Linked DNA regions of Homo sapiens: all the other regions are linked to region 2. Evidence: promoter capture Hi-C in 16 types of primary human blood cells and fetal thymus (Javierre and others, 2016). All regions are on one chromosome and are shown on one strand. Each heading gives the region's core, a stretch centred on a gene start or on the middle of the fragment in contact. The rest is flanking DNA. Distances are from core to core; before and after follow the strand shown.

The links. The method cuts DNA at HindIII sites, captures the fragments that hold promoters and counts their contacts. A CHiCAGO score of 5 or more calls a contact.
Region 1: a contact is called between the fragment with the promoter of EIF4H here and the fragment with the promoter of GTF2IRD1 in region 2, in 2 of 17 cell types (naive CD8 T cells and total CD4 T cells). The highest score is 6.7, in naive CD8 T cells.
Region 3: a fragment that was not itself captured here is called in contact with the fragment with the promoter of GTF2IRD1 in region 2 in 3 of 17 cell types (erythroblasts, total B cells and naive B cells); the score reaches 6.1 in erythroblasts.
Region 4: a contact is called between a fragment that was not itself captured here and the fragment with the promoter of GTF2IRD1 in region 2, in 1 of 17 cell types (erythroblasts). The highest score is 5.7, in erythroblasts.
Region 5: a fragment that was not itself captured here is called in contact with the fragment with the promoter of GTF2IRD1 in region 2 in 1 of 17 cell types (neutrophils); the score reaches 8.9 in neutrophils.
Region 6: a fragment that was not itself captured here is called in contact with the fragment with the promoter of GTF2IRD1 in region 2 in 6 of 17 cell types (neutrophils, erythroblasts, naive B cells and 3 more); the score reaches 10.7 in neutrophils.
Region 7: a contact is called between a fragment that was not itself captured here and the fragment with the promoter of GTF2IRD1 in region 2, in 3 of 17 cell types (non-activated CD4 T cells, total CD4 T cells and erythroblasts). The highest score is 6.1, in non-activated CD4 T cells.

Annotation. Positions count from the first base shown.
Region 1 is chr7:74,172,949-74,175,648 of GRCh38, forward strand. EIF4H (eukaryotic translation initiation factor 4H) reads left to right here and starts at 1,408. Exons shown (of 7, transcript NM_022170.2): 1 at 1,408-1,494. The coding sequence starts at 1,436. RefSeq lists a silencer at 1,159-1,668 and enhancers at 1,171-1,465, 1,447-1,960, 1,961-2,473. The HindIII fragment of the contact is 12,534 bases long and covers 1-2,566 here.
Region 2 is chr7:74,452,289-74,455,155 of GRCh38, forward strand. It overlaps GTF2IRD1 (GTF2I repeat domain containing 1), which reads left to right and starts at 1,618. Exons shown (of 27, transcript NM_005685.4): 1 at 1,618-1,888. RefSeq lists an enhancer at 1-433 and silencers at 1,319-1,668, 2,171-2,240. The HindIII fragment of the contact is 10,217 bases long and covers 1-2,867 here.
Region 3 is chr7:74,013,697-74,016,436 of GRCh38, forward strand. No RefSeq gene overlaps it. Among named protein-coding and RNA genes, the nearest start is that of ELN, 13 kb to the right of the region's middle. The HindIII fragment of the contact is 1,434 bases long and covers 628-2,061 here.
Region 4 is chr7:73,958,410-73,961,109 of GRCh38, forward strand. No RefSeq gene overlaps it. Among named protein-coding and RNA genes, the nearest start is that of ELN, 68 kb to the right of the region's middle. The HindIII fragment of the contact is 1,484 bases long and covers 516-1,999 here.
Region 5 is chr7:74,059,390-74,062,089 of GRCh38, forward strand. ELN (elastin) reads left to right here. Exons shown (of 33, transcript NM_000501.4): 23 at 497-658; 24 at 751-795; 25 at 987-1,112; 26 at 1,712-1,750. ELN-AS1 (ELN antisense RNA 1) reads right to left here. Exons shown (of 2, transcript NR_183555.1): 2 at 1-643. Among named protein-coding and RNA genes, the nearest start is that of ELN-AS1, 1.5 kb to the right of the region's middle. RefSeq lists an enhancer at 2,225-2,700. The HindIII fragment of the contact is 1,995 bases long and covers 439-2,433 here.
Region 6 is chr7:74,037,468-74,040,249 of GRCh38, forward strand. It overlaps ELN (elastin), which reads left to right. Exons shown (of 33, transcript NM_000501.4): 4 at 240-272. Among named protein-coding and RNA genes, the nearest start is that of ELN, 11 kb to the left of the region's middle. The HindIII fragment of the contact is 961 bases long and covers 794-1,754 here.
Region 7 is chr7:74,725,054-74,727,944 of GRCh38, forward strand. All of the region lies in intron 12 of GTF2I (general transcription factor IIi), which reads left to right. It overlaps GTF2I-AS1 (GTF2I antisense RNA 1), which reads right to left. Exons shown (of 4, transcript NR_110044.1): 2 at 2,349-2,469. Among named protein-coding and RNA genes, the nearest start is that of GTF2I-AS1, 2.4 kb to the right of the region's middle. The HindIII fragment of the contact is 3,415 bases long and covers 1-2,891 here.

The DNA.
Region 1 (2,700 bases), core at 158-2,657, 280 kb before region 2:
ACTCTGTCTCTACAAATAAATGTTTTACAAAGCAAATTAGAGCCAGGCACGGTGGCTCATGCCTGTAATCCCAGCACTTTGGGAGGCCAAGGCGGGTGGATCTCAGTTCAAGACCAGCCTGGGCAACATGGTGAAACGCTGTCTCTACTAAAAATACAAAAATTAACTGGGTGTGGTGGTGCACGTCTGTCACCCCAGTTACTCGGGAGACAGAGGCAGGAGAATTGCTTGAACCGAGGAGGTGGAGGTTGCAGTGAGATGAGATTGCGCCACTGCACTCCAACCTGATTCTCCATCTCAAAAAAAAAAAAAAAAAAATGCAAATTAGGCGAGGTACTGCCCGCCTATAGTCCTAGCTACTCCAGAGGCTAAGGCGGCAGGATGGCATGAGCCCAAGAGGTCAAGGCTGCCGTGAGCTACCACTGTTCCACCGCAGTCCAGCCTGGGCGACAGAGCGAGACCCTGTCTCAACAACGAACCAATAAATACATAATAAAAAGTAATGGTTAAGCGGAAGATACCTAGGTACACATCACAACAAAATTCTATGAGGTTCTTTCAAAGTGTGCTTAGATAATTAAGGTTTGTCAACATCGTGGCATCCACAATTACTACCATCTCAATCACAAACCTGGAAATTTACCCGTGTAATTAATTCCCACTGCATAACCATGTTTTGTTATTGCTAGATGATGGAATCCACAACAGTATCCAATTCTTTTTCCAAGGCAACGACTTCTGCAAAAAACCGAGATGTGCAGTCTCTCTTGCTAAGTCACCGATCACCTATACTCTCTCCTCTCAAAACCCCCCAATACCCAGGCAGCGAGTAAGCCCTGGAAGGCAGGATTCGTGTCTGCATCCCACCGCCTCGCACCCCCTTCCGGGGCATCCTCATCGTGTGGCCAGCTCCTGCCTGGAGAAGGAGGTGGCCTTTACTTGGGTGTCACCCGGGGACCACTTGGGGGTCCAAGCGGGACAGGCCTCCGAGGTCCCCGCCATGTATGGAGGCCGAAAGGCAGCGTCCCAGGCGAACTGGAGAGGGAGTTCCCCCCAGCTCTCCAGGTCACCTCCCGCCGACGGACGGAAAGGCCGGCGCGCACGGGCGTGGTGCGGCGGGGATAGGAGGCAGCCACGGGCGCACCCCAGGGCCAGCACATAATGGGCCGCGTAGGCCGGGCAGGCGTCCAGCTGGGACGCCGCCGCACCACGTGGGCTGCAGAGCGCACGGGGCAGGCAGCTGCCGGTGGGCCCAGGGCCGGGCGCTGCGCGGCCAGCGTCCGTGCGTGCGTGCGCGCGCGCGCGTGCGCGTGCCTGCGTCCAAGGGATTTGCGATCAGGCGGCGCGGCGGACAGCCCCGGCGGCGGGGCGGGGGGAGTTATATTGCGGGGTCCTTCCTCGCTCACCCTGGTTCCTCTCGGAGCGGAGACGGCAAATGGCGGACTTCGACACCTACGACGATCGGGCCTACAGCAGCTTCGGCGGCGGCAGAGGGTGAGGCGGGCGTGCGCGGGCCCCGTCGGGGGCTGCGGGACCGGCGGAGTCGGGGCCGTCAGGGTGGCGGCCGTCCTGCGCTCAGCCGGGGCGGCGGGAGGCGGGGGCCCGCGGAGGCCTAGGAGCGGCGCCTGGAGGGCCGGGGCCTGGAAATGGCGCGCTCGGAGACGGGGCGGCGGCGGCTGGGCTCCCGGGGTCTTGCTTGCGGGGCGGATCCCTTCCACTGCCTCCCGCCAACGACAACGTGTTGGTTTTTGCCCTGCCTTGGCCGCGGCGGCGCCGATGCCCGGAGACGAGCGCCCGCTTCCAGCCCCATCCCCCCTACGGTAGGACCAGTGCGGGGCTGAGCTGTGGCGCTGGGGTACGGGCCACACGGCCTGCCCCGCTCCGGTCCCGGCCTCTTTCGCGGCCCTCTGTTGCCTGCCCGCCTTGCAGGCCCCTGGCCCCTTCGCCACGAGGCCGGCCGACTGGGGAAGGTCGGCAGCCAAGAGGGGCGATTCCCTTCCCCTTACGTGTGAGGCAGGGATTTGGCGGCTCTGGCCCGGGGATGGTACGACTCCTTGCGGGCGGGGGGAGACCAAGGAGATAAATCCATCGTAGCTTCTTTGTATTAATCTTTCTTGGGTCACAGTGCCTTGACAGGTGCTACGTGCTCTTTGGCACAATTTCATTTCTCCTTGGTTTCTCGCTCTGATCTGGAGAAGGAACCGCATTTAGCGTCGTCCTGATTGTTGTCAAATGCAGACAACTATGTATAATTGAAACACTTTGCTTAAAAGAAACATCTTTGAATAGAGAGCTCATGGTGTTTAATTCCAGGACTCTGCACTTTTTTTTATTTTATTTTTTAAATACAAGTTGCCTCGTTAGAATATAGGCTATGAACATCTTGCTGTTTGTCAAGGACACACTTGGGCTTTGTGTTTTCTTGCAGAAAGGATTACTTTCCCAGGATAACACCACAATAATACACACTGAGGTGTTCAGTCTCCTGGGTTGCAGTCCAAAAGTATCTTTGTTTGGTAAAGAATGATCACTTTTAATACCTTGGTTTGGGAACGGCTCAGACAAAAGCTTGTTTCGGGGCAGGAGTGTAGCTAATGTTCATGATACTGTAACGTGGAAGTGTGCCGGTGTAGGTGGAGCTATTGTCATTCCAAAGAACATTTTATTTGCTAATAAAAAAAGAAGTAAATGTTGGATGAC
Region 2 (2,867 bases), core at 368-2,867:
GTAGGACTGGAGTTATTACTCAAATAAATCTCCCCAAGAACTCAGAGGCTAGGGTTTTTATGGATAATTTGGTGGGCAAGGGCCCAGGGAATGGGTACTGCTGATTGGTTGGAGATGAAATCACAGGGGTGTGGCAAACGGTCCTTATGCACTGAGTCGGTCTCTGAGTGGGGGCCACAGGATGGGCTGAGTCATGAGTCACACAGGTCCAGGTGAGTCAGTCGGTTGCCCGAATGCGAAAGTCTGAAAAACATCTCCAAAGACCAATCTCAGTTTCCACAATAGAGATGCTATCTATAGGAGGAAGTGGGGAACTCACAAATCTTGTGATCTCTCGCCACATGACTCCTGAGCAGTCAGATTATAAAAACGATGCGTAGGTTTTAGCAGCGTCCAGGCCCCTCCCATAATCCTAATCTCACGGCCTTTCGTTAGTTTTACAAAGGTGGTTTTGGTCTCTTGTATAAAAAGCAGGTTAGGTTTAAGGAGTAACTATTATCATCCTTGTTTCAAAGTTGAACTATAAACTAAATTCCTCCCCCGGTTAGCTTGGCCTATGCCCCGGAATGAGTGAAGACAGCCAGCGCGTGAGGCTGGAAGCAAGATGGAGTCAGCCACGCTAAACTTCTGTCACTGTCCTAATCTTTGCAAAGGCAGTTTGGCCAGGAGGCTGTGGGGAGACCTTGTGGGTTTTGCCAGGACCTGGGAGATTCTCGATCTATGTTTGGCTGTCCTTCTAAGCCAGAAGCTCCCTGGGGTTGGGGCCTGCCTGGGGTGAGTCCCTCCCTCCCTGCCATGCCCAGTCTAGCCAAGGTCTAGTTCAGGGATCAGGGCACCACGTGGGGGAAGGACTGTGTTCCTTGTGCTGAATTAGGATTTATGGCTTTGGGGCCGGATGGGAGGCGTGCGCACTGATTCAGTAGGAGCGCTGCTGTGGTGTGTGTGTGGTTGGTGGGAGCGGGGCGGGCGGGGGGCGGGGGGGCTGGTTGGGGGGACAGGGGTAAAAGCCTATCAGAGGGAGGTCCCATCAGACAAGATGGGACCAAGAGTCCAGTTGGCTCTGCTGCGACTTTCGGCCTGTCACTGCCTTCCTGCACATCTCAGGGGTGGGAGGGGGACAAAGGCTGTAAGAGTAAGAGGTACCTGGCCCAAGCCTTAGGACTAGAACCCGGGCCAGGCGGGAGTGACCAGCCGGGACACTCAGGGCCTCCGCGCGTTCCAGCTGGGTGACCTTGACCCTCCAACTTCAGCCCCCTGCGCCCGGCTGCTCTCCCAGTGGTGGTGGGGAGCGGTGGGGGTAGACGGGGGCGCGCCCAGGCTTTTCTAATCCGGCGCTGGTGGGGGAGAACCGAGGGCGCCACCGCCCCTCCCCGCAGGTCCGGGGCCGAGGGGTGCGGCGCGCTCTCCCCACCGCGGTGCCCAGGTCCCCGGGACGCAGGGGCGCTGGGTAGCAAGGGGGGTGCGCAGGGGCGCGGGGCGCGGGGCGGGCTAATCCCGTATGTAAATGGCAGCCAATGGAGGGTGGTGTTGCGCGGGGCTGGGATTAGGGCCGGGGCGAATGGCTGGCAATCTTACTGGGATTACAGAACAAAGAGCCTCCCCGCGCTCCCGCTCTCCGCTCCTCTCCCCGCGCCGCCCCGCCCTCCGCCGCAGCCCGCGCCGGGGGTGGGGGCCGCCGAGCGCCAGCCCCCCGGCCGGCCGATTCCCCCCCCGCGCCCCCTCCCCGCGCCTCCCTCCCCGCCCTCGCCGCGCCGCCGTCCTCGCCTCCCTCTGCCTCTCCTTCCCCCATTCTCCCGGATTAATTAAGGAGGCAGCGGCAGGAGGCTGAGTCCTGGCCGCGGGCCGGGGCCGGGGCGCCGCTGGCAGGAGCGCTTGGGGATCCTCCAAGGTAGGAGAAACTTTTGCGGGGGGCGGGCACCGAGGCCCTTCTCCCCTTCTCCCCCACCCCCGCCCCCGATCCCCTCCGCCTCCGGGGGGGGGGGTCCCCGCCCCTCCCCCTCTCAAGGTGTTACAGGAGCTGGGGCCGGCTTTTGGGTGCCCGGGGAGGCACGTGACTGGGATTATAATTCGGGCCCGGGGGGAGGGGAGGGACGGCCGCCCCCCACCTGCCCGGGAGGGGCCGGGAGCTGGGAGCTGTCACCCCCTCCCTCCTTGCCACCGGCTCTTCTGGAGGTGGGGGGCGTCCCGGGCCGGCGCCCGCAGGCTGCTGCAGTTGGCGAATGAGGTCAGTCGCGCTGCCCGCGGTGGCGGGCGCCGGGGTGGGAGCAGAGGGGGCTGGGAAGGCCGCGGTCCCCGCCTTTCCCCCCTCCACCTTCTCCCGGTCTGGGCCAGCCCCTGGCCCGCGCCCCCAACTCCCAGGCGGAGTCCAGTCCAGCCAGGATTGCCCCAGCAGGGTGGTTCCTGTAGTGGACCCCCCGCCCCGGCCCCGGGGAGGGGGCTGGCCTGTGTGGTGGTGGCCGCTGAATCCCGGGTGGAGGGGACTCAGAAGGTGGCAGTGGGGGGACCACAAAGGGTTCAGAGGAGTAAGTTGGGGATACTCGGTCTGTGGGTGGTCTCTGAGTTCCTGCAGATGGGTGGAGAGGACAGAGGAGGGGCCACAGGGTGCTGAACACCCACCCGCCCCATCCTAAGTACCCTGGGCATGATGGGCTTGACACCTCTCCTGGGCTCCTCACCCCTGGCCAGCAGCCAGGGAGTGAGACCCTGCCTCGCCTGGCGTGGGCCCAGGGAAGGGGGCCGCTGTGCCGCTGAGAGTTCGTTCCACCCTCCTGGCAGTGCTGGAGGGGGCTGGAGCTCTGGCGTCTGGCCTAGTGACCCTACCTCCCAGGACCAAGGTCCTGCGGTGGGAGTCTCCTGTGTCCCCATCC
Region 3 (2,740 bases), core at 95-2,594, 440 kb before region 2:
ATACTAGCCCTGCCAGACACAAAGGTGGCCCCAGCAGAAGGGACTGTCTGCACTGAGGCATCCACGTCATCCTACCCATCCCTCCAGGTGAGCACAGCCCCCAGGAGACCCAGAGGAGCTAAGATTCCAACACCAGGGCAGGGCGGGCCTGAGATCAGGGACAGGTCCTAGGCCAGAGTCCTTCAGCATCAGTCCATGTGATCTCGACTCCTCCCCAGAGGCGGCCGCAGGAGCGAGCTGGTCCAGGCCACACTGTGTCCTCAGGTCCCCGGGTGGGTGGCTCTGGTCAGTCCCTTTGCTTTACAACTGTGAGGTCGCCCTGCCTCCCATGGCCAAGCTGGGGCAGAGGGCGGATACCTGAATCCCTGCTGGCCTCCCAGCTTAATCCCTCAGCTTTCCTGAGAATGGCTCTGCTGTTCTTGGCCAAGGGCCTCCGCTGAGCCTGGCACAGCCTCGGCTTGGCCCTCACCAGCGAGTGAGGGCTTGGCTGGGGCCCAGCCAGGGCGGTGGACATGATTGAAGCTAGAACATGGGGCCTGGCGGGCGGTGGAGGTTCACTTGGACCCCAGGGAGTGGCTCTGCCGCAGGGTCGGGACTCACCTCCTGGGGCCCCTCTCATCTGACAGAAGCTTCAGGGCCTTCTCCGAGCCCACCTGGTCCAGAAAACATACAGACCCTGCTCCTTCACTCCCCTGAAACAAATCTGGGTTTTCCCACAAGGAAAGAAGCAGAAAGTTGAGAACAAAACCCTGGTTCTCCCTCCTGTTACAGGCCTTGATCGAGTCTCTACCATTTCCGAGGCTCAGTGCAAAGCTCCACGTAGAGGATGCAGAAATGAATTTTCTATGGAGCCCCAGGACGGGGCCACACCTCTTTTTACTGCCCCAGTTTCTCCAAACGGCCCTGAACCAGGGATCTGAGCAGGGCTGTAGCTAAGATTTTGCTGAGCAGCTATTTTGTGCTTGCATGCATGCAATGTGCTTGAGCTCCCTGACTCCCTGCCACACCCTCTCTAAGAGATGAGGAAACTGAAGCTCAGGGAGGGTACCTTGCCCAAGGTCAAAGTGCCCAAAGTGGAACAAGAGGGACTTGAACTTGCGCCATGTGGACTCAGAGCCTCTGCTTTTAACCACAGGGGTGTAGTGGGAAGGGGGTGTCTGGGGAAGGGCGTGTCTGGGGAAGGGCGGAAGGTCCTGAGGCCGGCTCAGAGGGAGACAGGCATTGCAGGTGGGCAGAACCAGGGGAGGACCGAATGGTGCTGAATGGTGCCCGAACAGTCTCCAAGGACCATCATAGAAACCCAGGAGCCCCCCTGGTCCATTTCATTAGTGATTTGTGTTTTCACATCTTTTCATTTACAGGCCTTATTTGGGGACCTCTTTCTGCAAAGGTACTTGGAGAGAAACAGTACAACCTCAGAACCCCAGTTACCCACCAACTTCCTTTTTTATTTTCTTTTTTTTTTTTTTTTTTTTTGAGACAGGGTTCAATCTGTCACCCAGGCTGGAGTGCAGTGGCACGATCTCAGCTCACTGCAACCTCCACCTTCCAGGCTCAAGCGATCCTCCAGCCTCAGCCCCGCCAAGTAGCTGAGACTACAGGCACACGCCATTAAGTCTGGCTAATTTTGTGTGTGTGTGTGTGTGTGTGTGTGTGTGTGTGTGTTTTGTAGAAATGGGGTTTTGCCATATTGCCCAGGCTGGTCTCGAACTCCCGGGCTCAAGTGATCCGCCCACCTTGGTCTCCCAAATTGCTGGGATTATAGGCATGAGTCACCACACCTGGCCCCAAGTTCCATTTTTTAAAAATTTTATTATAATCCCACCCCAGGAACAGCTGGCTCACCAGATGGTAAGTGACTATCCCGTGAGATGGCTCCATTAAGTCCATACATTGAATATTGGAGTCAAGGGAGAAACGCAGAATTAGGCAGACATCAGACTAGATTGGATTCACCATCATATTCTCAATGCTCAGCACAGGAACAGAAATTAGTAGTTGCTAAATCAATATTTGCTGAATAAACAAGTAAGTGCCTTTCTGTTAAATGGGTAATAGCCAAGCTTCTAAACTATCTTATTATCATTATTATTATTTTTTTTCTTTTAGAAACAGAGACTCACTCTGTTGCCCAGACTGGAGCGCAATGACGTAGTCATGACTCACTGCAGCCTTGAGCTCCTGGACTCAAGTGAGCCTCCTACCTCAGCCTCCTGCATGGCTGGAGTACAGGCATATACCACCATACCCAGCTAATTGTTTTGTTTGTTTTTTGCAGAGATGGGGGTTTCGCTATGTTGCCCACGCTGATCTCTAACTCCTGGCTTCAAGGAATCCTCCCACATCAGCCTCCCAAAGTGCTGGGATTACAGGCGTGAGCCACTGCGCCCAGACAAACCATCTCTGTTAATTGATGCCTGAGTACCATTGAATGAATCATTTAAACTCTACTTTGGATTAATCCTAATAAGGGATTTAGACTAGATCAGGGTCATTTAAGACACAAAGTATAGGCCATACCTCCCACTTCTTGCTCCCAGCAGACATGACCCATTGACTGTGTGATTCCCGTCTGCTGAGACTGGATATCCTCAGAATCCTTCTTAACACCACTTCTGATGGCCATTGCCCATCAAACACAGTTGGTGACGGAACCTATCTGCCATACTGGTTGGAATGAGCTCCCCCAGCCCATTAAAGAGAGAGGCAGCTGAGAGAAATCCAGGCTGTAGGGAGAGTT
Region 4 (2,700 bases), core at 8-2,507, 490 kb before region 2:
CCTGACCTCAGGTGATCCACCTGCCTTGGTCTCCCAAAGTGCTGAGATTACAGGCGTGAGCCACTGCACCCCATCAAGACTTCTTTAATTTCTTTCAACTGTGTTTTGTGGTTGTCAGAGTATGTCTTGTGCTTGTTTTATTAAATTTATTCCTAAGTATTTTATTTTTATGTTATTATAAATGGAATTGTTTTCTTAATCTAATTTTTTGGATTGTTCATTTCCAAAAAATATAACAGATTTTTATATATTTATCTTGTATTCTACAACCTTGCTGAACTCATTTATTAGTTCTAATAGTTGTGTGTGTGTATATATGTCTGTGTGTTTGTGTAATCCTGAGGATTTTCTCTATACAAGGCCACATTCTCTGCAAATAGAGGCAGTTATACTTAATCCTTTCTAATCTGGATGCCTTTATTTCTTTCTCCTGCCCTGGCTAGAACATCTGATGCAATGTGGAATATAAGTGTTGACAGGGGACATTCTTGTCTTGTTTTTGATCTTAGGAAGAAAGCTTTCTACCTTTCATCACTGTGTATGATGATAGGTGGGTTTTTATGGATGTCTTTTTTCAGGTTGAGAAATTATCCTTCTATTCCTAGTTTGGAGATTGTTTTTATCACAAAAGGGTGTTGGATTTTGACAATGCTTTTTCTACATCTATTGAGACGATGATATGGTTTTGCCTTTTATTCCATTAATAGGGTGTATTAACTGCATTGATTTTTGTACACTGAGGCAAACTTACATTCCTGGCATAAATCTCACTTGATCATTGGTATATAATCCTTTTTGTATGTTAGTGAATTCATTTTCTAGTATTTTGCTGAGAATTTTTTTGTCTTTATTTGTAAGAATTATTGGTCTATAGTTTTCTTTTCTTGTTTTGTCTTTGTGTGGTTTTGGTGTCAGGACCTCAGAATGAGTTGGAAAATTTCCCCCCTATTTTTGGAAAGGTTTTTGGAGGATTGATATTAATTCTTCTTTAAATGTTTGGCAGAAATCATCAGTGAAGCCATCTGGTCCTGGGTTTTTCTTTGCAAGGAGTTCTTTTGTGTTTGTTTTGCTTTGTTTTGTTTTGTTTTAATTATTAATTCAATCTCTTGTTATAGATATTTTGAGATTTTTAATTTCTTTTTGTGTCTGTTCTAATAGCTTGAGGCTTTGTAAGAATTTGTCCCTGGGATACAATTGTTCATAGTATTCCCTTATAATTCTCTATCCTTCTGTAAGGTTAATAGTAATGTCCTGGCTGGGCGCAGTGGCTGACACCTGTAATCCCAGCACTTTGAGAGGCCGAGGCGGGTGGATCACCTGAGATCAGGGGTTCGAGACCAGCCTGGCCAACATGGTGAAACCCCATCTCTACTAAAAATACAAAATTAGCCGGCTGTGTTGACGTGTGCCTGTAATCCCAGCTACTTGGGAGGCTGAGGCAGGAGGATCACTTGAACCCAGGAGGTAGAGGTTGCAGTGAGCCGAGATTGTGCCACTGCACTCCAGCCTGGGCAACAGAGCAAGACTCCGTCTCAAAAAAAAAAAAATAGTAATGTCATTTCTTCCATTCTCAATTTTAGTAATTTGAATTTTTTTCTCTTTTTTTCTTGGCAAGTCTAAAGATTTGTGAATTTTGTTGATCTTTTTGAAGAACCAACTTTTTGGTTTCATTAGCTTTCTCTATTGCTTTTCTGTCTCTATTTCATTTATTTCCCCTTAATCTATATTATTTCTTTCTTTGTATTTGCTTTGAGTTTAACTTTGTTCCTCTTTTTCTTGTTTCTTAGGGTAGAAGTTTAGGTTATTGATTTGAGATCTTGCTTCATTTTTAATATAGGAATTTACAGCGCTATGTTTTCCTTCTAAACTTCTATTTATTCTTGAGCCAGTTTTGGTCATTTGTGTCTTCAAAGAATTTGTCCATGCTACTTGAGCTATCAAATGTACTGGCATGCTATTGCTCATAACATTCCCTTATTATCTGTTTCATGTACACAGAAGCTTTAGTAATGTCTCTTCTTTCATGACTAATATTGATAATGCAGTATTCTCCATTTTTGGTTTAAAGAATATAGCTTGAGTCTTATCAGTGGTGGTGAGAGACTGTGGTGGCCCTATGAGTCCCACCTCCTGCCATCACACCTTTGTGTGGCCTCCCCTTGAGCGTGGATGTGACTTGTGACTTGCTTCTAAATCATAGAATATAACACAGGTGAAGGCATGTACATGATGACGTGTATGTGATTACATTATGTAAGATAATAATCCATCTTGCTAGGACACTCTTGTCCTCCCCACCATACACCTAATGGCTTTGAGGAAGTAAGCTGCCATGTGGCAAGGAGATGGGAGTGGCCTCTGGCTGACAGCCAGGTGGAAACTGAAGCTCTTGGTCCAGCAGCCTGCAAGGAACTGAATTCTGTCAACCACCACATGAGTTAGAAGTCGATTCTCCACCAGTTGGCCTCAGATGAGACACCTTGATTGCAACTTAGTGAGCTAGAAGCAGAGGACCTAGCTAAGCTGTGCCTGGACTCCTGGCCCCCAGAAACTATGAGAAAATAAATACATGTTGTTTAAAGCCACTGTTTGCGGTGGTTGTGTTGCTACACAGCAATAGATAATGAATACATCAACACTTGGACTTTTCAAAGAAACTGCTTTTGGTATCAGTGATTTTCTTCATTATTGGTTCATTTT
Region 5 (2,700 bases), core at 186-2,685, 390 kb before region 2:
AAGAACTCCTGGCCAAATGCAGCAGCTCACAACTATAATCCCAGAACTTTGGGAGGCCAAGTCGGGTGGATCACCCAAGGTCAGGAGTTTAAGACCAGCCTGGCCAACATGGTGAAACCCTGTCTCTACTAAAAATACAAAAAAATTAGCCGGGCATGGTGGTGCGCACCTGTAGTCCCAGCTACTCAGGAGGCTGAGGCAGGAGACTCACTTGAACTCGGGAGGTGGTGGTTGCAGTGAGTCGAGATCACGCCATTGCACTCCAGCCTGGGCGATAGAGTGAGACTCTGTCTCCAAAAAAACAAAGTTATGAACTCCTGAGCCTGCACACACTTCATATTAGGGAGGAGGAAGCTGAGGCCCAGCAAGGGAAAGTAACTGATCCAGGGTCACACAGCAAATCTATGCCAGGGCCGAGGCTCCAGCCCTCTTTCCATAAGCTTCTGTCCTCTTTGATCAGGTCTTGGTTAATGATCAGCTCTTCTCAATCTTGCAGGGTTAGTTCCTGGTGTCGGCGTGGCTCCTGGAGTTGGCGTGGCTCCTGGTGTCGGTGTGGCTCCTGGAGTTGGCTTGGCTCCTGGAGTTGGCGTGGCTCCTGGAGTTGGTGTGGCTCCTGGCGTTGGCGTGGCTCCCGGCATTGGCCCTGGTGGAGTTGCAGGTGAGTTTCATGAGTCAATGAGCCTGAGGGGCCCCCGAAGCCTCCATGGGCCCCGCCTCCATCTCTAATCCCCCTCTCTCTCCCTCCCTCAGCTGCAGCAAAATCCGCTGCCAAGGTGGCTGCCAAAGCCCAGCTCCGTGAGTGCCTCGCCCACCTTTCTCTCCTCTCCCCAACGATCTCAGAGCTGGTTAGGGGCAACAGCCAGGGAGGAGGCCGCTGCTTGGATCTGGGCCCCTTCCTCTGGGACTAGGCTCAGCTCCCTGGGCAGGACACCTCCTTAGGGGCATGCTCCCTGCCTGCTGTCGCCACCACTGCCCTCTGTCTGCAGGAGCTGCAGCTGGGCTTGGTGCTGGCATCCCTGGACTTGGAGTTGGTGTCGGCGTCCCTGGACTTGGAGTTGGTGCTGGTGTTCCTGGACTTGGAGTTGGTGCTGGTGTTCCTGGCTTCGGGGCAGGTGCAGATGAGGGAGTTAGGCGGAGCCTGTCCCCTGAGCTCAGGGAAGGAGATCCCTCCTCCTCTCAGCACCTCCCCAGCACCCCCTCATCACCCAGGGGTGCATAGTAAAATCCTTGTTAGGTTCTCCTAAGCATCTGGGGGTAACAGATAGCGGGAGGAGGGCAGACCAGGCCAAGGGACCCCAGGCTGCCCAATTGCAGAGTATCTGCCTCCTCAGTAGAGGGGTGGCAGGGCTCCAGACTGAGAAAAAGCCTGCCCTCCAACCAGGGAAGGAGCAGGTAGATCAGCCTGGCTCCCCTTCAGCAGTGCTCTGTGGCCAGGGGACCACTAGGAACTCCAGTTCTTCACCAGCTGGTGACTGAGCCCCACTCTGTGCCCAGCCTCAGGCAGTCCATGCTAGGCCTGGGGAGAGAAGGAAGGGGCAGACGGAAGGTGGAGGCACTGTTCAGCCCTAAAGCTCTGTGCCTGTACAGCTTCAGGGCTTTGAGGAAGCAATAGAGGCCAAGGAAGTCAGGGAGGGCTCTCTAGAGGAGGCGGCAGAACTCCCAGGCACAGAGCTCGGCTCCTGACCACTCCCCAACTTTTCTTTCTCCCCAGTACCTGGAGCCCTGGCTGCCGCTAAAGCAGCCAAATATGGTGAGTGCACCCCACAACCACTTGTGGCTCCCTTGCCACCACACCATCCCTGACAGCACAGGACTGGGGTGGTCACAATAGAAAAAGGCAGTTTCGGCCGGGCGTGGTGGCTCACACCTGTAATCCCAGCACTTTGGGAGGCCGAGGCAGGCAGATCACCTGAGGTCAGGAGTTCCAGACCAGCCTGAACAATATGGTTAAACCCCATCTCTACTAAAAATTCAAAAATTAGCCAGGCGTGGTGGCGGGCACCTGTAATCCCAGCACTTTGGGAGGCCGAGGTGGGCAGATCAACTGAGGTCGGGGGTTCCAGACCAGCCTGACCAATATGGTGAAACCCCATCTCTACTAAAAACACAAAAATTAGCCAGGTGTGGTGGCGGGCACCTGTAATCCCAGCTACTCGGGAGGCTGAGGCAGGAGAATCGCTTGAACCCAGGAGATGGAGGTTGCAGTGAGCCGAGATCACGCCACTGCACTCCGGCCTGGACGACAGAGCGAGACTGTATCTCAAAAAAAGAAAAGAAAAGAAAAAGAAAAAGGCAGTTTCTAGGACACGTTTATGACAGTTTAAAAACCTGGCCCCTGCCCACTAAATGCTTATGGTGCCTTCAACCCCTGTGACCACCAAAAACACCCTTGAAATCCCAGTTGCCCCCCAGGAGGCAATTCCACCATCCCTAAGCTTGCCCTGACCCTGACAGTTACATGGTCCCTGTGTCCAGGAAGGGACTGGGCCTGCTGTGGGTATGAGGAGTCTGGGCAGTCTCTGCCTCCACCCCAGCTCTCTGGCCCGAGCAAAGGAGCTGGTATTCCTCATCTGGGCACCCCGGGCCCCCGCCCGCCTTCCTGTCCTGCCAGCAGGACCGCTCCCACCACGAGCCAGCCCAGAGGACGTGGCAGTCCCACAGCCTCTGCACTTGGCGCTCTGGCAGCCCTGCCTGGCCAGA
Region 6 (2,782 bases), core at 24-2,523, 420 kb before region 2:
ACAGGCGTGAGCCACCACCCCCAGCCCATCATCCCCTTTTGAGGCTGAGACTCTGGGACTCAGAGAGTATAAACCACGAGTTAGAAGTAGAGCTAGGTTCCCAGGGGCTCCAAGTCTGAGCGGGAGGACCTGGGGTGTGTGATTCCACACTGCCCACACTTTGCCCGGGTTGGGGGTTGGATAAGTAGTAGATGGATAAGCTGGGCCACCCCATTCACTATCTTCTCTTCCCTCTGCAGCGCTGGGGCCTGGAGGCAAACCTCTTAAGCCAGGTAAGACCCAAGGCCTCGGAGCATTGAGAGACAGCGAGGGAGCTGGGGAGGGAGGAGCCTACCCAGCTGGGAATGGGACAAGGAAACTAGGAACAGGACAAGGAAGCCAACGGGCAGGAGGAAGGAGGGAGGTGTGGACACCGATTAGCCTCCCAAGGATGAGTAGGCCGGGGCCAGGTCCCAGGGCTTCCAGGAACAAGAGGCTGGAAGCAGCTCCATGTCCTCCCTGTGTGAGGGCGTCTAGCATCTACCCTACATGTGCATGTGTGTTCACCCAGCTGTCCAGAGACTCCTCTCTGCAAAGGAGAGGCTGTTAGAGGCAACATCAGGGATTGCTCCGGTTCCAGTGGCCTCCAAGCCTTACATGACCCTCGGGAGCTCAGACACAGATCCTCAGCCCCAGACTTCCCCTGAGTGGTCCCCTAGCCCTTGACCCCAGACCAATACCCCAGATCACCCTGACCTTGATGCCATTCTGAGCCCTTCTCCTGACTCCAGATGGAGCACTGGTCTCAAGCCAAAGCTTAACCCCAGCCCAAGCCCTGAGCCTAATCCCAGGCTGAACCCTGACCCTGCTGACCCTGGTCCCACAGGACCCCCAATCCTGGCCTTAGGCCAAGCCCTGACCCCAAGCCCAAGCTGAGCACCGACCATGGCCCCGGATAAGCTCCCCTCCTAATCTCAGGCCCTTTCCAGCTGTGTCCAGACCACGGAGTTTTCCAGTAAGAAGGTGTGGCCGGATCTATCCTGGCCTCGCCCAAGGGGCTGGGATCTGCCACGAGGGTCCACTCTCAGCTCTGGGGAATGCACCCCCAGGAAGGAAGGTGGGGCAGGTCCCTCCGGGAAATACTGGCGGATAAGGAGCAGGTGGAGGAAACAGCGTCTCTGTCCAGATTGATGGTCCCTCGGCATGAGACGCTCCACATGTGACTTTGGCCGCCCCACACCCTGAGCTGTGTTGCCCTGGCTCAGAAGCCCAAGTCTCCAGGACACAGTTTAGATGTCCAAGAGCTCTTATGAAATCCTGATAGTTGATAATCCAAGTGCAAATGAATCTTCAAGACCCAGATTCCCCTGCGCTAAAAGTCCATCTGGGTTGTGAAACACCAGGGCTGGAGCCAGGAGAGGCGGGAGAACGGGGTGCCTGGGGTCTACAGGGCTCTGCAAGGCCAGGAGACCCTGGGAGCTTGCCACTTATCCCCGCCAGCACCTATACCCTGTCTTCCTGGAGCAGGTGAGGGTTCTTAGCAGGGTCTTTGACGGTGAAGAGAGGACAGGGGAGATGATAGTGGTGCAGAGGTGTGGAGGTAGGTCTGTGCTTGGCCTAGAAGACCCAAATTGAGGAGGTTGTGCCTGCAAAGCTGGAGGGTACATTCATTGATCCCACTAGGAGCAAGAGACACATAGCAGGTTGTGGTTAAACACCAGAGGAAAGACAGACAACTCCCTACGAAGTTCCAGGATGTGTAGTTGCAAAAGTGAAGCTTTTGTTAATGAAAGATTTAGGTTAGACTTCTGAAAGAACTTCCAGCTCAGGGTGAAGGAGTCAATCCAAAGGAAAGTCAGAGCATCTCCTTCTGATAAAAAGGGCAGTGTTTCCAGGCAAGGGGCTGGATTCCATGACCTCCCCGAAGACTCAGGGCTACAGAAGGGTCGGCAGAGCCCCCATGGCACCCCCAGGGAGGCCCCCACATCCGGGCTGCCAGGACGTCTGGGCCTGCCCAGGCAGGATGGAATGGAGCACAGGCAGCGCGTGTCATGCTTGGGAACAATTAATCCCTTGGTGACAGAGGGTGGGTGGCCTGGCAGCTGCTTTTCCACGTGGGCGCCACCACAGGTCCAAGCTGGCCCTGCCCTGCCTCAGCTCTCAGCGGGGGACCAGGCAGCTGGAAGCCTGCACACCCAACACCCTGAGCACTAGCCAGAGGCCAGCCGCCCACTGAGAGGGGCACGGGCATGGACAAGAAGGAACTGGGAGCACCCACTGTGTGCCCTGGGTAGGTTGCACAACTAGGTGCTTTCTGCACACATGCTCACTGGTCCCAGCAAGGCAGGTGATATAATGGCCATTTTGTAGATGGCAAAAACTAAGCCTCATCGGAGAGGCAAATTGACCTGCTTGTGCTCATGGAGGCTGGGTAGCAGCAGCAGGGTCTGAATCTAGAACTCTCTGACTCTAGAAAGAAGGAGGATGGAGCTGGCCAGGTCCCTGGACTCCCAGCTGTGGTCAGCCCCTCCCCGCTTTCTCCTCCTTTCCAGATGCTAGAATCCTTGGGGCATTTGGGGCAGGTGAGTGCAAAGGAAGGAGGGCAGGCAGAGACAGAAGTGGTCAGGCCACATGACAGGATGCTCAGGCTGGGATCATGGGAAAAAGGAAGATGGCCCCAGAGAAGCTGCCTGCCCCCCACTGCAGCCCCAGCCTCTTCTCACTTCCTGTGCAGTCCTCAGCTTCCCCTCCCAGCCCCTCTGTGGACAGGAAAGGTCTGAGCATGTCCCTTGCCCTCTCAGAG
Region 7 (2,891 bases), core at 370-2,869, 270 kb after region 2:
TATACTTTGGAAACGGCAGATAATTGGAAGAGCAATGCCCAGTATGTGAGGGCAGGCCCTAGAGCTTTAGTTGATGTTTTATGCTTCAGAGTAAAAAGTAATTTTGATCCTTTGTGGAAAGGATTTTAGGTCGAGAAACCCATTTTTTTTCTTACTTTCTCAAAACCAATTAATTGCAACAAAGAGTTAATTGCAGAAAAAATTGAGGATGTGGTGAAGTTTATAGCTGTTCTGATGCCTGAATGCCATGTTCCATATGACTTAAAACACCCAAAGATTAATTAATAAGTTTATGAAACAGGGTTTTTAAAATAGAATATATGGTGTGATATTTTATCAATAACTACATCCAGCTGGGTGCGGTGGCTCACACCTATAATCCCAGCACTTTAGGAGGCCAAGGCAGGAGGATCACTTGAGGCCAGGAGTTCAAGACCAACCTGGGCAACATAGGGGGACCCCTATCTCTACAAAAGTTAAAAAAAAAAAAATTAGCTGGGCGTGGTGGTGCAGGCCTGTAGTCCCAGCTATTTGGGAGGCTGAGGTGGGAGGATCACCTGAGCCTGGGAAGTCGAGGCTGCAGTGAGTGGTGCTCCAGCCTGGGTGAAGGAGGGAGACCCTGTCTTAAAAAATAAAGTAACTACATTCATCTCTATATATGTTCACATTTAACAGATTGAACTTTATTATTTGTCAGTGAAGAGGAAAATGTGATATCCCTGATATTTTCAATATTTTACAGTCTTTGTTGTATTAAAAAAGCACTCTAGTAGATTTGCCTTTTTCTCTTTCTTTTTTTTTTTTTGGTTTATGATCGATTGGGTTACCTTCATAAAATATATTTATGCTATTAAATCTATTGTGGTCTAAAATGTTTGTGTGACTGAAAAAGTGAAGTCTTTTCAGTAAGGAAAACCTGTCTTCCCTTCCCCTGGGCCTCAGCTGTGAAGTTTGGATTTGGACTGAGATCCATGGGATGGAGCTCCACAGGTGTCCCTTCCATTCCATCTACAGCTGTGTTTCCTTTCTCATGTCATTCTACTCTAGCAGCTTTCAGTTTATGTCACTCAATGAATAGTCAGCTTAAATGATGATCTATAAGGATACTTAGGAGACCTTAACCTATAGGGGAAATACTTTTATTTTAGAAGTTACTGCTTAATGTTTGTAAAAAAATATATAGTAATATTAAGCATTTATAATGCTTTGACAGTATTCATAGGTGAAATGAGTGTATTTTGTTTTAACCTTTGGAAGCCAGCATAAAAATACTCTTAAGGTTTCTAAAATCTGTTTGGGAGTTGGAAAATCGGGTTTTTTAAAAAGTATATTTTCAGAATTGAGGTCCAAACTTACACACTTCTGTTTTCCAGATTGTTTCTACTTAGGTTGGAACCTTAATCTATTTATAGGGTGTCTTGACCATTTTTAATCCTTACAGTCATACAAACCCAGGTGCCAGTCAAGTTTTATTTCACAGGGAGGTTGTCATTTTAAAATTGTTTTCTGTCCTGGTCCCGTGGCTCATGCCTATAATCTCCGCACTTTGGGAGGCTGAGGCAGAAGGATCACTTGAGGCCAGGAGTTTCAGACCAGCCTGGGCAACATAATGAGACCCTGTCCCTACAAAAAATTAAAAGAAAAATAGCCAGGTGTGTTGGTCCCAGCTATTTGGGAGGCTGAAGCAGGAGAATCATTTGAGGCCAGGAGCTCGAGGTTGCAGTGAGCTATAATCATGCCACTGCCCTCCAGCCTGGGCGATAGAATGAGACCCTCCCGACAGATAGATAGATAGATAGATAGATAGATAGATAGATAGATAGATAGATAGAATGAGACCCTGCCAATAGATAGATAGATAGATAGATAGATAGATAGATAGATAGATAGAAAGAATGAGACCCTGCCGATAGATAGATAGTTTTCTATCAAATTTTTTCCTAGATTTGAACATGTTTTTCTAAAGTAGCATTCAACACATCAGCATTTTATAGCGTCATTAGTTGTTACTATGATTATGTTTTTCTGAAATAGTATCCTTTACAAAAGCACTTCTGTCTTTCTAAGCACATACATAGGTCCTAAAATGAATTTGTCTGATGTTGGTGACCTCGGAACCATTTTCTCCAGTTGATTAGCACGGCCAGCCAGTCAATAATTTCAGGTCACTGTTGGCCTTAGAGGAAGAGCCCAAAGGCAGCAAGCAAGGGTGCTGGTGTCCAGTCGCCTTCTAGAAGCATTTTCACCTTCCCTTAAGATTTCCCTTGATTAACACAGAAGTGTCTATAGAAGTGACCCAGTGCTGCCCCGGGCAACATCGTATATTAGGCCAAATTTGCATTTCTTACCTTTATGAGAAGCACCCTCGTAGTCTAGTGGAGTTACACACACACAGTCTGATCTCAGCTGTGCTCTCCAGAGATACAACATAGTCCAATCAAATAACATCCTCTGAGCCTGTTTCTTTAGCTGTAAAATAAGAATAACAATTATACCCATCTAAAAAGATAGTGTCTTGTACTTGAGTGATCTTTTTTCTATGATACTGTCTTTAACACAATAATTATTTTCTTCACCATACCACATTTGTTTTTAAATAAGAATTTCTTAAAATGATGTTTTCAGTATTTTATAGATGATGTTTGAGCAGCAATATTAATAGCATGTTACCTGACACTTTGAGGGACTAGAAGATGACAGTGGCAGCTGATATGACCCAGATGTCTCTAATCCTAACATGAGGTGTACTGAAGGGTCACAGCAGAGTGAGTTCCTGGTGTATCCACAAGGAAATGAGCACGGAACTCTCACAACAGCGTGTGTGCTGTGCGCTGTGCTTGAATAGCTGACTGCTCCTTTATACACAGCCTCTGTGCTGACTGAATCAACAG